2 separate regions of the Homo sapiens genome follow, and region 1 is linked to region 2. Evidence: promoter capture Hi-C in 16 types of primary human blood cells and fetal thymus (Javierre and others, 2016). All regions are on one chromosome and are shown on one strand. The core of a region is centred on a gene start or on the middle of the fragment in contact, and the rest is flanking DNA. Distances in the headings are between cores, read along the strand shown.

Region 1 (7,294 bases), core at 3,756-6,255, 160 kb after region 2:
GCTACGGGGTATGAAGAGTTTAAGGTTCTTAATATATTTTGCCAAAACTCTTACAGGTCTTTAAAATTATCTGTATTTATTGTTGAAAAACTTACTTTTATGTAGGGAAAACTCTGGAAGGATTTGTACATTTGGGTCTGAGGTTAATAAAGTGGTTGTGCTTGCATTAGCAGATACATAAATATTCTTTAAAAACTAACCTTGTATTTATTATTTCTAAATAAACTCAAAAGGACCATTCTTAAGGACAGCCGATTTTTCCGTTACTTGCACACAGCTGTGATAGTGAGTGGAACCATGCTGGTGTTTGGAGGAAACACACACAATGACACATCTATGAGCCATGGCGCCAAATGCTTCTCTTCAGATTTCATGGCCTATGACATTGGTAAGTTTCCCAAAACCATTTTCTCTTCAGGCATCTTTTTGCCTATACTATAAGCAGCATTTAAAAGGAGACTGAAAATATTGCCAGTTCAAAATGATCAGGCCATTTGAAAGAGGTCCAAATGGTATTTTTTATATTCATTTGACTAATGTTACACATCTGGTAAAAATTATTTCTACATTAAATTCTTTTTGAAATCACTCCTGTTAATTGCTTGAATGCTAATTTTTAAGGCTGAGTTGAGGTGTCTAGTCTCTCCTTTGTCATGTTATGCCTACCTGGTAGTGTTACATAGTTGCAACCACCAGCATTGTGTTAAAATTGGTTCACGTATTAGCTTTATCTCATTCCCTAGAAAACTGGTTTCTCACATGGTCTTGGTGTGGCAATATACCAGACCAGAAGAGGGCAGTATTTGTTCATGCAAAGCAAATGCATACCGGATGATCTCTTTCATAAAAATTGTCAGATGTTCATTTTAAACAAATTATTATTTTTTTGATTGTGGTAAAATACACATAAAATTTACCATCCTAACTATATTTAAATGTCTAGTTTAGTGATACTAAACACATTCATAATGTTATAAATCCATCACCGCCATCCATCTTCAGAACTGTCTTCATCTTGTAAGACTGAAGCTGTATACCCATTAAACAATAATGTCCCATTTCTTCCTCCCCACAATGCCTGGCAACCACTATTCTACAGTCTGTCTCTGTGATTTTGACTATTCCAAGTCAGACATTCGTTTTTAACAGACATTTGTGTGCCAGCCACTCAGTTTGTACATTGAGGAGATCAGATGAATAACTTAAAGCCCTTAGCCTCAAAGTAGAAGAGGTAGAGAAATGAGCAGACAATAGAATTGCACTTCAGGGTGTTTCTGGCTGAAAAGAATGTATGAGAGCACCTCTGAGTACCCTTTAAGTCATGGAGGGTAGAGTGATAAACAGGGAACACTTTCTTAAGGAGGGGCCATCCTCTCTGGGTCCTTGGGGACACTAGGTGTCAGGTAGGTGAAGTTAGGCAGCACTCTCCAGGCAGAGGAAACCCAGTTTGCAGAGACACAGAGGTGGAAAAGACCGGCACATATTTAAGGGCTCAAAGAGTGAGACACTGAGTGTGAGGTTGGCATGGTATAGCAGCACCAGTTGGTATTAGATCCAGAAGAGAAGTTGCTAGTATGGGTCACAACAAGGGAAAATTAATCAATCTATGGGATCTAGGAAAGGACTTTGTAAAAATTAGGTGACATTTAAATTTCTTGAAATTTCATTTTCCACCTTTATTTTTCCATTTTAGCTACTAAATTTGAGCAAATCAATATAGAAAAGAGTGGAAAATAATTATGAAACCCATGTTTTGCTGACATAAGCTTTGTAGAATGTAAAATTTGCTTGCTTTAAAAAACATTCTTGGCTGGGCGTGGTGGTTCATGCCTGTAATCCCAGCACTTTGGGAGGCCCAGGTGGGCAGATCACGAGGTCAGGAGATTGAGACTATCCTGGCTAACACGGTGAAACCCCATCTCTACTAAAAATAAAAAAAATTAGCCAGGCATGGTGGCAGGCGCCTATAGGCCCAGCTACTTGGGAGGATGAGGCAGGAGAATGGCGTGAACCTGGGAGGAGGAGCTTGCAGTGAGCTGAGATCACACCACTGCACTCCAGCCTGGGTGACAGAGCGAGACTCTGTCTCAATTCTAGTGCATCAAACTGATAGGCAGTTGGGTGAGTGATCCAGATGTCATGGATTTCGGGTGCGTTTGCTAGTTAGAATTGTGGTATGATCCCGCCTTTCTTCCATGCCCTGTTGCTCTGCTGCTGCTTCATTTTAACCCAGAAATGATGTTGTAACTGAGAAAATTGAGAGGCATGTTTTATGAGGTTCTCTTTGTTGTAGTATTTTTCCCAAAGAAAATGTCAGGTCCTGTTGATTAGAAATGGTAGTCCGTTTAAAAATATATTTTTCTTTCTCCTAGCCTGTGACCGCTGGTCAGTGCTTCCCAGACCTGATCTCCACCATGATGTCAACAGATTTGGCCATTCAGCAGTCTTACACAACAGGTAATTGGAGAAGTGATTGCTCCTTTTCTTTTGTGTTTAAAATGAAAATAAAGGGCCGGGCACGGTGGCTCACGCCTGTAATTCTGGCACTTTGGGAGGCCGAGGCGGGTGGAATACGAGGTCAGGAGATCAAGACCATCCTGGCCAACATGGTAAAGACCCATCTCTACTAAAAGTACAAAAATTAGCTGGGCTTGGTAGTGCGTGCCTGTAATCCCCCCTAGTTGGGAGGCTGAGGCAGGAGAATCGCTTGAACGAGGGATGCTGAGGCAGGAGAATCACTTGAACCAGGGAGTTGGAGGTTGCCGTGAGACGAGATCGCGCCACAGCACTCCAGCCTGGCAACAGAGCAAGACTCTGTCTCAAAAAAAAAAAAAAAAAAAAAAAAGAGAAAAGTAAAGTGGAATTGGACTCAACATATTATTCACAAGATTCCCTCATCCCAGTAGTTTTTTTACAGGATTATGTGGGTATAAATTTTCTGATTTATGTTTAAAATATTTGATGTGGAGGTGAATTACTTTGAATGCCATGTTTATTGATCTGGTTTTGTTAGCACGCAAGAGCATGCTTTTTGGTGTGGTCTGAGTGCCTGGGGCAACAAAAGTTACGTGCATGTCATTGTCTTATGTCCTTTGTTATTGTTAGTGGTATTTAGGTTGTCAAGTTCCTAGTAGTTGTATCTGAATAGTAAGAAGTTTGGAAAAGAGGAGAGAGGGCACTTCAGATGGGGGGATAAGGTAGGAGAACAGAGGTGGAGAGATTGTGAAGTTTAATATAGCTCAAGTCTGTAGGCTCTGGATAATCAGAAGTCTGCAGTTCATTGCATTTTATCGCTCAAAAATGCCTGGCCCAAACTACCAGAGCTCTTCAAAAAATCGGCCCTTGGAGAAGTCTCAGTCAAATAAGGGAGATTCAGAGTGGCCACTCTACTTGTTCCTTACAGTGTGCTTTAAAGATTTTTAAGAAGTTAAACAGCCTAATCACATTATTAATTTTTCTCATTCAGTTTCTGCTATTACTACTGCTGTCTACTTTCCCTTTTTTAAAATTCTAAGCCATATAAATCCTAAGGATGTTTAAGCGTTATAATGCCTGCATCATGTTAGAATTCCTTTGGCTTTTGAAATTTCTGTTGTAACGATGGAAGACAGATGAGGTAATTTCACTTAGATTAGGAAAGATGAGAGGCCGGGCACGGTGGCTCACGCCTGTAATCCCAGCACTTTGGGAGGCCGAGGAGGGCCGATCACTTGAGCCCAGGAGTTCCAGACCACCCTGGTCAACATGGCAAAACCCCCGTCTCTTCCTAAAATACAAAACAATTAGCCAGGTGTGGTGGTAGGCACCTGTAGTCCCAGCTACTTGGGAGGCTGAGGCAGGAGAATCACTTGAACCCAGGAGGCGGAAATTGCAGTGAGCCAAGATTATGCCACTGCATTCCAGCCTGGGCGACAGCGAGACTCCATCTCAAAAAAAAAAAAAAAAAAAAGGAAAAGTGAGAAGGTGACATATTTTGGAGATGTTGTGAAGGAAGAGTTGAGACAATTTAGGAACTAGCTACTAGGAAAAGGTGCTATCTTATATAAGGTAATTATTTCGTTTTTTAGCAATGTGTATGGTTTTACTATGAGAACATTTGACAGCTAGAGACTAAAATGGAAGGATTTCTGGCCACCTTGCTAATTTGAAGTGTTATTATAAATCATAATCTTGAACTTCCTCAGTACAGAAGACCCTTAAAGCTTTCTAGCAAGTGCCTCTTGAGATTTTCATCTGAAACGCAGTGGGACCATTTTGTCATTATCATGCCTGTGGGAGCCTGGCCTCAACTGTCTTCGTTTGTGTTCCTAGTTCTCCTAGCACAGGATTTGGCACATAATAGACATTTGCTAAATGGCAGGTATTAGTACAGTCATAACTAGCAAACAAATGAATTTTTTATAAAACATTCTTAGGTTTTATTCAAACTCAGAGAAGTTGAGACTTTACCATAAAATATAATTTAATCATGAGTCAAAATTGGGAATGCCTTGCCTGAGTTGTAATGTTTTCATTTTATGTGATTCCAGTGGTATGTTTGAACCCTGATATGTAAGTATCTGTGTGTGTGAGACAGGATTGGGTAGGTGGCAGGAGACCCTGAGGGAGGCCAGCTACTAAAAGGCCATAGTTTTGGTTTAATTTTATGAAATAATTTACTGAAAAAGAAACTTCGATTCACAGCATTTCTTCATGCTTTAAGTGGATCAACAGCATTGGGTGAGCTGTGCCTTCCTTGGTTTTCATTGAGGTTTTGAGGGAGGCAGGAAGGAGGAGGAGAGATGGCTGTGACATACCAAGGCGGCAGGAGATGCAGCTGTGCCTCTCAGTTGCCTGCTCCATGTGTCTCTGAGAGACTCTCCCTAACTTTGCAGAGCCCCTGTGCAACCAGATGGATTCACAATTGCTGAGAACACCAACTGTACTGGGAAGAGGAGGTTGCTTATTTGGTTTAAGCAACAAATTAACTAGTTGAATCTAGCCTGCTTAATGTGGTACTGAGTAAGCCTATAGCAAGGTAAAAAATGAAACCTGGCCGGGCGTAGTGGCTCACGCTTGTAATCCCAGCACTTTGGGAGGCCGAGGCGGGTGGATCACGAGGTCAGGAGATCAAGACTATCCTGGCTAACACTGTGAAACTCCATCTCTACTAAAAGTACAAAAAAATTAGCTGGGCGTGGTGGCGGGCGCATGTAGTCCCAGCTTCTCGGGAGGCTGAGGCAGGAGAATGATGTGAACCCCAGGAGGTGGAGCTTGCAGTGAGCTGAGATCGCGCCACTGCACTCCAGCCTGGGCAACAGAGCGAGACTGTGTCAAAAAAAAAAAAAAGAGAAAGAAACCTTATATTAATTTTTTAGTTTTTGAAATCTACCAGTAAATATTTCAGATTAGGCCAGGCATGGTGGCTCATGCCTGTTATCCCAGCACTTTGGGAGGCTAAGGCAGGAGGATCACTTGAGCCCAGGAGTTTGAGGCTGCAGTGAGCTATGATGACGCCACTGCACTCCAGCCTGGGTGACAGAGTGAGACCCTAACTCAAAAAAAATATATTTCAGATAACAATTTGTTTTCATTTTTCACAACTCTATAAAGTAACTATAAACACTGAATTCTTGAATATTGAATTATTGCTCCTAGGGGAAATACAGGGTTATGTTTCTATAAACCTCTGATGACATTTTCATCAACCAGTCAGCATACATAACTTTCTTTTATGTGTGTTTCTATTTAAAAACATCTTGTTGAATATATATTCTTGATTTATTAACATTGAGCTCACAGCCAACAGCACTTTAACTCATGCCTGAACAAAGCTTATGTAACACACGTATTTTCTCAGTAAGGCTCGTCACAGCCTTCTTACACTTAGGAACACTAGACAGCACTTCAGCACTGCATAGGGGGCCATTTTCAGCAGTGAAAGCACTAACATAAGGCACAAAAATGCATAAAACATGGCACTAGATACATCATGGAAGGGACACTTGTTTGTAGTATGATAGTTGAAACAAGAAGGGAGAGCATCTCCTTGTTTGACCTTAGCCGGTAATATGCATGTGTGTCAACTCAAATTTTTTGCCATTCTTTGCACACACATGCTGGTAAATGACCATGAAACTACTGCAAGTATTGATTTTGGAATTAGAAATAGATTTTATAAGTACGTGAATTTGCAAATATGGAATCTACAATCTGCAGATATGGTCATGTGTCACTGAATGATAGGGATACATTCTGAGAAGTGCATCCTTAGGCAATTTCATCATTGTGCCAACATCACAGAGTGTACTTACATAAACTTAGGCTACACATCTAGGCTATATGGTATGGCTTGTTGCTCCTAGCTACAAGCCTGTGCAGCATGTTACTATACTCAATACTGTAGGTCATTGTAATGCAATGTAAGTATTTGTGTGTCCAAGCATATCTAAACATAGAGAAGGTACAGTAAAAATGCAATATAAAAGATAAAAAAATGTACACCTGTACAGGCCACTTACTATGAAGAGAGGGAGCATACAGGACTGGAAATTGTTCTGGGGAGGTCTGTGAGTGAGTAGACTGTACACTACTGTAGACTTTGTGAACTGTACACTTAGGCTACACTAAATTTATTTTAAAATTGTTTTCTTCAATAATAAATTAACCTTAGATTACTAGATGACAACCATTGTACATGCCATCCATCATTGATGGAAACATCGTTATGCAGGACCACATACATGACTATAATGAGGATTGGCTGTCTTTTAAAGATGAAGACTTAATTTTTAAAACACAACCCCTATGCAGTTATTACACTTTTATTCTTTAAGCCAGGGGTGGTGGCTCACGCCTGTAATCCCAGCGCTTTGGGAGGCCAAGGCAGGAGGATTGCTTGAGTCCAGGAGTTCAACACCAGCCTGGGCAACACAGCAAGACCTCATCTCTACTAGAAATACAAAAATTAGCTGGTCATGGTGGTGCGTGCCTGTTGTCCCAACTACTCAGGAGGTTGAGGTGGGAGGATTGCTTGAGCCCAGGAATTTGAGGTTGCACTGAGCTATGATGGTGCTGTTGCACTCCAGTCTGAGTAATGGAGCAAGACTCTAACTCAAAAAAAAAAAAAAAGTTGTTCTTTAATATCTCTCAGTGTCCATTCAGTGTTTACATCTCCTAATTGTCTCAATTTTTTTTTTAAGTTTAGTTTGTTCAACTCAGAATCCAAATAAGATCCATATGTTACAATTGGTTAAAATGTCTCTGAAGTTTCTCTTGATCTGTAGGGACCCCATCCATCATTTTCCCCCTTACT
Region 2 (7,100 bases), core at 1,357-3,856:
AGTATTCCCACGCATTTCACTGACCAAAAGCAACTCTTAAGGCCATACCTAACTTCAAAGAAGCAAGCAAGTAAAATTCTACTACATGCTCAAGAGACAGAAACCAAAAATACCTGGTAAGACTGATGACTATCACATGCTTAAAGAGAAGCCTCTCATTCTGAGTAACAATATTTTAATTCTTGATCTCCATTCTCCATCTGTGAAAATGAACTACCGTGCTAGAACCATACACTTGCAGAGTACTATCTATGGGTCTTAGGAATGTCACTTCACCAGTTAGGTTTGCCCCTTCCATCACTCAGCAGTCAGCAGCAAAGCCATATATGGGTGACAGGAAAGTGCTAGTAACATTCAATGTCAAGAGTAAGGGAAAGGCTTGAATGGGCAAGAAAAGCACGTTCAATCATGTAGAAGTGGGGAAAGGAGGGAAGCCTTCAGCAAATTTCTTTCACCAAAGGTATTGGGGGCAGCTAGGCCTTGGGGTTCCTTGCACTATTCCTTGTCTGAAATCAAATTTTATTCAAACCACTTGATAGAAGATTTGGAGTTCGGGTATGATCAGTAAAGTGAGCCAGCATACTTCTTTGAACATAGAATCACTACCTTTAAAAGAATAAATAAAAAGCACATGGCCATGCTACTAAAAACAAGAAAGGCAGCATTTAAGAGACAGATTCTAAGGTAGAGATGATTTTTTTCCCCCTAAAGATCTCAACAGACTCAAATCCAAATTCCTAAGCTCAAGATGATCTGGGATAAACCTCAAGTCCACACAGAGCCTAGATTTAACGGATGGCTGTTCTAAAGTATCCTATGCAATGTCTATACAAGTTCAAATACTTTCTGCTTCAGACAGTGAAACTGGCAGAAATGTTGCAAAGGATTGGAGATGCGTTACTATAAGCAGTTAAACTTGGAACTGTAAAGCCCACAAGGAATTACACTGAAGGGCAGAGCAGGAGTTCAAAAATGTCACCTGACAGATTCGAAGCAATTTAGGACTCCTAAATGCAATGTTTCATTGGTATCTACCCCCCACCTTCTCTATCCTTTATTTGTTCAACAAACATATACTGGATTCTGGGTTGTGGAAAGGAATGCAGGGAAGTAAAAAAGAAACAGGTTTCTAAGAATCAGTTTCTTGTTCTCCAATAATTTGGTCTAGTTAAAGCAAACAAACAACCCCAAAAATCAGATCAGCAAGCAAAGTTAAAACATATGCCTTAAGTACCATAACAAGAATATAAGAAAACTGTTTTAACATGTAGATTGGCAACCTCCTTTCAAGGGAACAATATATTTGCTTTGCTATGTGGCTAGAATAAGAAAAAGCAAACAACAACAAAACCCTCTCCTGTTTTAATGACAGTTTAGCAGTACCAAAGCTCATCGCTCGCATTCCCCCTCTCCCTCTCCTTCTCAAAGGTCTCTGCTGCAACCCCTCCATCATTCCAACCTCCACACTGCGCCGGCGCCCCACACCAGCTCCATCACAAACAATGCCCAGACCAACAAGATCAGCACCAAACGCATAGGGCACAGAAATCGGAAACGGATCTTCCTATATCTAAAGGGGGCGGGGAACGCTCCCCACGATCACCCCCTCCCCATACTGAGGTAGCTTGGGACTGTGTCTCTACGGTAAGGGGCCTGGCGTCCGCCGCTTTCGGAGGTTCTAGGCCTCTTTCCCCTATTTATCCAGTTTTTCCTCCTGCGTCCCTAATACCTCTACTTCCTCCCAACCCGAGCTCCCTATTGTGGAGTGAGGGGGCGTCGCGATGCAGGCTGAGGCAGGGGGAGCTGGGGAAACGCGCGACAGGGGAGATGCTGTCATTATGTACGTAGGGGGCGGGGGACACTCTTTAAGGAAGCCGTTGTCAAGGGCAAAGGCTCTAGAGACCCACGGGAGGGGGCTTTCTAGGTAATCCATTTGGGGGTTCTACACGAGGGAGCTATTGTGTGTGTGGAGGTGTGAGGTCTGTAGAGTAGCAGTTTCTGAGGGAAACATTCCCTGGGGAAGGCGAGTGAGTTATTCATAGGGAAGCCTCTGTGGGGTTCTGTGTAGAAGAATCCTTCCTGGGAGAAACGTTCTATGGGGGTGAGGACGTCATAACAGTGTCTTCACAGGGAATCGCTGTCCCTAGGGAAGCCATTGTGGGGAAACCGTTGCAGGGTTGTCTGTGGGGGAGCCATTGTGGGGAAACCGTTGCGGGGTTGTCCAAAGGGGAGCCATTGTGGGGCCTCTACAGAGGGCGCCGTTCCTGGGAAAAATTCCTCCCTGAGCCGTTCAGCAAAGAACCGTCCCGAGGAAGCCATGTCGGACCACGCCCTGCGGCGGGAGGCGTCGCCGGACCCCGACAGCCCGCATCCCCCGCCCGGCCGCCCCTCGGCTGCCTCTGCCCCGCGTACCTGACGGAGGGTGACCCGCGGCTGGAGCCGCCAGGGGACCGAGCGCGGGGCAGCCCCTGCCGGCGCGGGGGGTACACGTCCATGGCGGCGGACGACTGGCGGCGGAGGAGGACGGTGCAGCTGCGAGGGTCTCAGTTGCCCGCAGGGCGGCTCCACGCTAGCTGCGGCCGGGCGGGGCGGCAGGGCGTGCCGGGTGGGAGGGGGCGCGGCGCGCGGGCCCGGCGGGGGCGGGGGCGGGGGCGTGGAGGGGGCGCGCGCACCGAGAGCGGATGGGGGCGTTGGGAGCGGCTGGAGTTGGGGGTCGGCGCACGGCCACAGGGACCCCACTTCTTAAGCTGCGAGGCCGCCGGACCGGATGTTGGGAGCGCGTGTCCGCAGGGTGAGGGTTGCCACAGCGCCGCCCGGCCTCGTCCTCAAGCCCGGCATCATAGAGCGGGGCTCTGCGCGGCGCCCCCCGGCCACGCACACGGACGCGCCCGGGGGCGGAGCCTCTCCCAGCCCGGCCCCGCCCCTCCGCCTCTGCCCGCCCCGCCCCGCCCGACCAGCCCCGGCCTCCAGCGAAGTCTTCCGCTCCGGCGTCAGGATCCAGCGCACCTCCCCAGTACCCAGCGCACCTCCCCAGTACCCGGCTCGCTTCCCTGTTCTCCGGAACGGTGTCTTCCCGCTTCCTGGTCATCAATTCCGCACCCACCCTTCAAACATCCAATAGATTCCTAGCCGGCCTCGGGTTAGCGCAGCAGTGCGCACCCAGCCCTGCGCAGGGCATGAGCGTTAGAGGCGCACAGGATCCCAGAAGACCCCTAACCTTTACTGTTAAGATCCTAGCTCTACCGGTTTCTGCAGGGACATGTACAAGAAACTTGGGAAATACTGCACTGATAGTTGCCAGGAGTCCTGTATATACAGGACGTATTTAATGATTATTGGCCTGCGTCCTTCGTTGACCTCGTCGGAATGCCTTAAATGTCCTGTATTCATCTTTTTACACTAAATTGCAATAATTAGAGCTATTTTTCTCCCACAGTAATTGGTGCTAGATCACTTAAATTACAACACTGGCTGAAAATCCTTCCTACACTAATGAAGATTTGGACAATCCCTATGGTGTCTCCTTCAGGTTTGGCTGAGGGAAGACCAGAAGGGAGTAGGAATTTAAAGTGCTCGTCTTTCATATTCAAGAAAGGAAAATACTTTTTTAGCTCAAGTCCGGAGTCGTGAACAAATAACCACCATTATTTAGAGATAACTTCTCGTCGGTGCAGCAGCTCTGAAAATCAGCCAATCAGCGATAGCCTCACTCCGGTAACTATGCTTCTTAGTAAATCAATGACAACCCCACGCTTCTGAAAGTCAGCCAATCAGTGACCGCTCTAAGCCTCCGACAATAGCCAATCAACAAGTGCCTGACACCAGCGACCAGGCTTCCGAAAGTCAGTGGGTACTCAGCTGCCGCACTCCACTTCTGATTCGGAAAGACAGCCAATCCCTGAAGGCGAATATTTCCAAAACCATTTTTTTTTCTTTCCCAGACTGAGTCTCATTCTGTCGCCCAGGCTGGAGTGCAGTGGCGCGATCTCGGCTCACTGCAACCTCTGCCTCCCGGTTCAAGCGATTCTCCTACCTCAGCCTACCGAGTAGCTGGGATTACAGGCTCCCGCCACCACGCCTGGCTCATTTTTGTATTTTTAGTAGAGACGGGTTTTGCCATGTTGGCCAGACTGGTCTCAAACTCCTGACCTCAGTTGATCCGCCTGCCTTGGCCTCCCAAAGTGCTGGGATTACAGGCCTGAGCCATCGCGCCCGGCCTTTTTTTTCTTTTTCTCCTTTTTTTTTGGAGACAGAGTCGCACTCTGTTGCTCAGGCTGGAGTGCAGTGGCGTGATCTCAGATCACTGCAACCTCTGCCTCCTGGTTCAAGCGATTCTTGTGCCTCAGCTTCCCAAGTAGCTGGGATTACAGGCCTGTGCCACCAAGCCTGGCTAATTTTTTGTATTTTTAGTAGAGACAGAGTTTCGCCATGTTGGCCAGGCTGGTCTTGAACTCCTGGCCTCAAGTGAATCGCCAGCCTTGGCCTCCCAAAGTGCTGGTATTACAGGCGTGAGCCGCGCCCGGCCTTCAAAACCTTTTATAAGATCAGCTCTGGCTTTGTTCAGAGAGGCTGTACCTTACAAGTACCGCTCTCCCTTGCAAGCAGAGAAGAAATTCACTTTTTTTTTGCATCAGATATTGAGTTCAATTTATTGTTTTGTCCGAGTTCAAAGTTCACAGCTCAAGATTCAATTCCCAGTTACTATTTGGTATGAGTTTGGACTTATGACAGACGCTATGACACCGTCATGAGATTTATCAAATACAACTCTTTCAATTCTTTCTATGCTTGCAGTGATCAATTTTTTAGCTCAAGTCCAGAGTCATGAACAAGTAACCACCATTATTTAGAGATAACTTCCCATCGGTGCAAAAGCTCTGAAAATCAGCTCTAAAAACAATTCAACGGGGCTACACGTGGTGGTGCACGCCTGCAGTCCCAGCAATTTGGGAGACTAAGACAAGTGGATTTCTTGAGCCCAAGAGTTTGAGACCAGCCTGGGCAACGTGGCAAAACCTCATCTCTCTGTCTCTCTCTCTCTATATATATATAGTTTATTTATAAAAATATATATTTATATTATAATTTATGTATACAAATATATTTCATATATGCACACACACACAAATTGGCCAGGCATAGTGGCATGTGTCTGTAGTCGCAGCTATTCAGGAGACTGAGATGGGAGGATCGCTTGAGCCTGGGAGGTCTAGGATGCAGTGAGTTAAGATCAGGCCACTGCACTCCAGCATGGGGGACTGAGTGAGACCCTGTCTCAAAAAAAAAAAAAAAAATCAATGAGTATAGGCACAGATTTGTGCAACCACCACCACAATCAATTTTAGAACATTTTTATCACTCCAACAGGAAAATCCTGTACCTATTAGCAGTCATTCCTCCATTTCTTCCCAACCACCCCAGCCCTAGGCAACCACTAACCTTTTAATTTGCCTATTCTGGACATTTCATGTTATCAGCATCATTCAATATATGGTTTTTCATGACTGGCTTCTTCCATTTAGCATAATGTTTATAAGGTTCATCCATGTTGCAGCATGTATCAGAATTTTGTTCCTTTTCATGGTTGAATATTATTACATTGAATGGATATACCACATCTTGCTTATCCATTTATCTGTTAATGAACAGTCAGATTGTTTCCACTGTTTTGCTATGTTTTGTAGCTAATGCTATTATTAACATTTGTGTACAAGTTTTTTTGTGGACACACAGTTTGTTTCCTTGGCGATCTAGGAGTGGGTTTCTGGATCACATGGTAACTCTACGTTTAACCTTTTGAGGAACTGCCAAACGGTTTTCCAAAGTGGCTGCACCATTTATATTCTCACCAGCATCATATGTGGGTTCTAATTTTTCCATATCTTCCCTAATACTCATTATCTTTTTCACTATAGCCATTTTAGAGGGTATGAAGTGGTATCTCATTGTGGTTTTGGCTTATATTTCCTGATAGCTAATGATGTCAAGCATCTCTTCATGTGCTTATTAGCCATTTGGACCTCCTCCTTTTTTTTTTTTTTTTTTTTTTTTTGAGACGGAGTTTCACTCTTGTTGCCCAGGCTGGAGTGCAATGGCATGATCTCAGCTCAACGCAACCTCTGCCTCCCGGGTTCAAGCGATTCTCCTGCCTCAGCCTCCCGAGTAGCTGGGATTACAGGCATGCGCCACCGCGCCCAGCTAATTTTGTATTTTTAGTAGAGACGGGGTTTCTCCATGTTGGTCAGGCTGATCTCAAACTCCCGACCTCAGGTGATCTGCCCACCTCAGCCTCACAAAGTGCTGGGATTACAGGCATGAGCCGCCGTGCCTGGCCTATACCTCTTCTTTGGAGGAATGTCTGCTCGAATTTTTTGACCATTTTTACTTGGTTACTTGTCCTTTTATTATGTTGTGGTAGCTCTTTATATAGTCTAGATATAAGTACCTTATCAGAAATACAATTTGCAAAAATTTTATCCCATTCTGTGGGTTGTCTTTTCACATTCTTGATATTGTTGTTTGAAACACAAAACTTTAAAATTTTAATGATATCCAGTTTATCAATTTTTTTCTTTTGTTGCTTGTGCTCTATGTGTCATAACTAGGAAACTATTGCCTAATCCAAAGTCATGAAGACGTACCTCTTACATTTTCTTCTAAGAGTTTAATAATTTTGGCTCTTACATTTTAGATCTTTGATTAATTCCAAATTAATTTTTCTATATGATGTGAGGCAGGGATCCAACTTGATTCTTTTCCATGTGGCTATTCACTTGTCTCAGCACCATTTGTTGAACAGACTATTTTTTTCCCCATTGAATTGTCTTGGTACCCTTGTTGAAAATCGATTGTGTTATCTATTTCTTTATTTGTGTATATGTGAATCCACAAATGCCAAATTGCAAGAGTGAATTTTATGACAAATTTTCTGAAGAGTGTACATTTATTAAAGGAGAGAAAATCCATTTGCAGCTCTTTATGTGGTATGCAAGTATTTATTCAATATTGAAAATGGTGGAAAGACAGATATACATCAGCACATACTAACGGCTAAGCATAAAAGATGTGTGATTTTTGTACCAAAGGAATGGATAAAATGA

Evidence for each region. Contacts are between HindIII fragments. The CHiCAGO score rates a contact against its expected background, and 5 or more counts as called.
Region 1: a fragment that was not itself captured here is called in contact with the fragment with the promoter of DNAAF9 in region 2 in 2 of 17 cell types (M1 macrophages and M2 macrophages); the score reaches 5.5 in M1 macrophages.

Annotation. Positions count from the first base shown.
Region 1 is chr20:3,562,976-3,570,269 of GRCh38, forward strand. It overlaps ATRN (attractin), which reads left to right. Exons shown (of 29, transcript NM_139321.3): 10 at 234-388; 11 at 2,373-2,457. Among named protein-coding and RNA genes, the nearest start is that of ATRN, 96 kb to the left of the region's middle. The HindIII fragment of the contact is 1,611 bases long and covers 4,201-5,811 here.
Region 2 is chr20:3,405,063-3,412,162 of GRCh38, forward strand. DNAAF9 (dynein axonemal assembly factor 9) reads right to left here and starts at 2,607. Exons shown (of 37, transcript NM_001009984.3): 1 at 2,413-2,607. The coding sequence starts at 2,495. RefSeq lists silencers at 2,271-2,350, 2,411-2,650, 2,691-2,940 and enhancers at 2,931-3,130, 3,507-4,008. The HindIII fragment of the contact is 11,473 bases long and covers 1-7,100 here.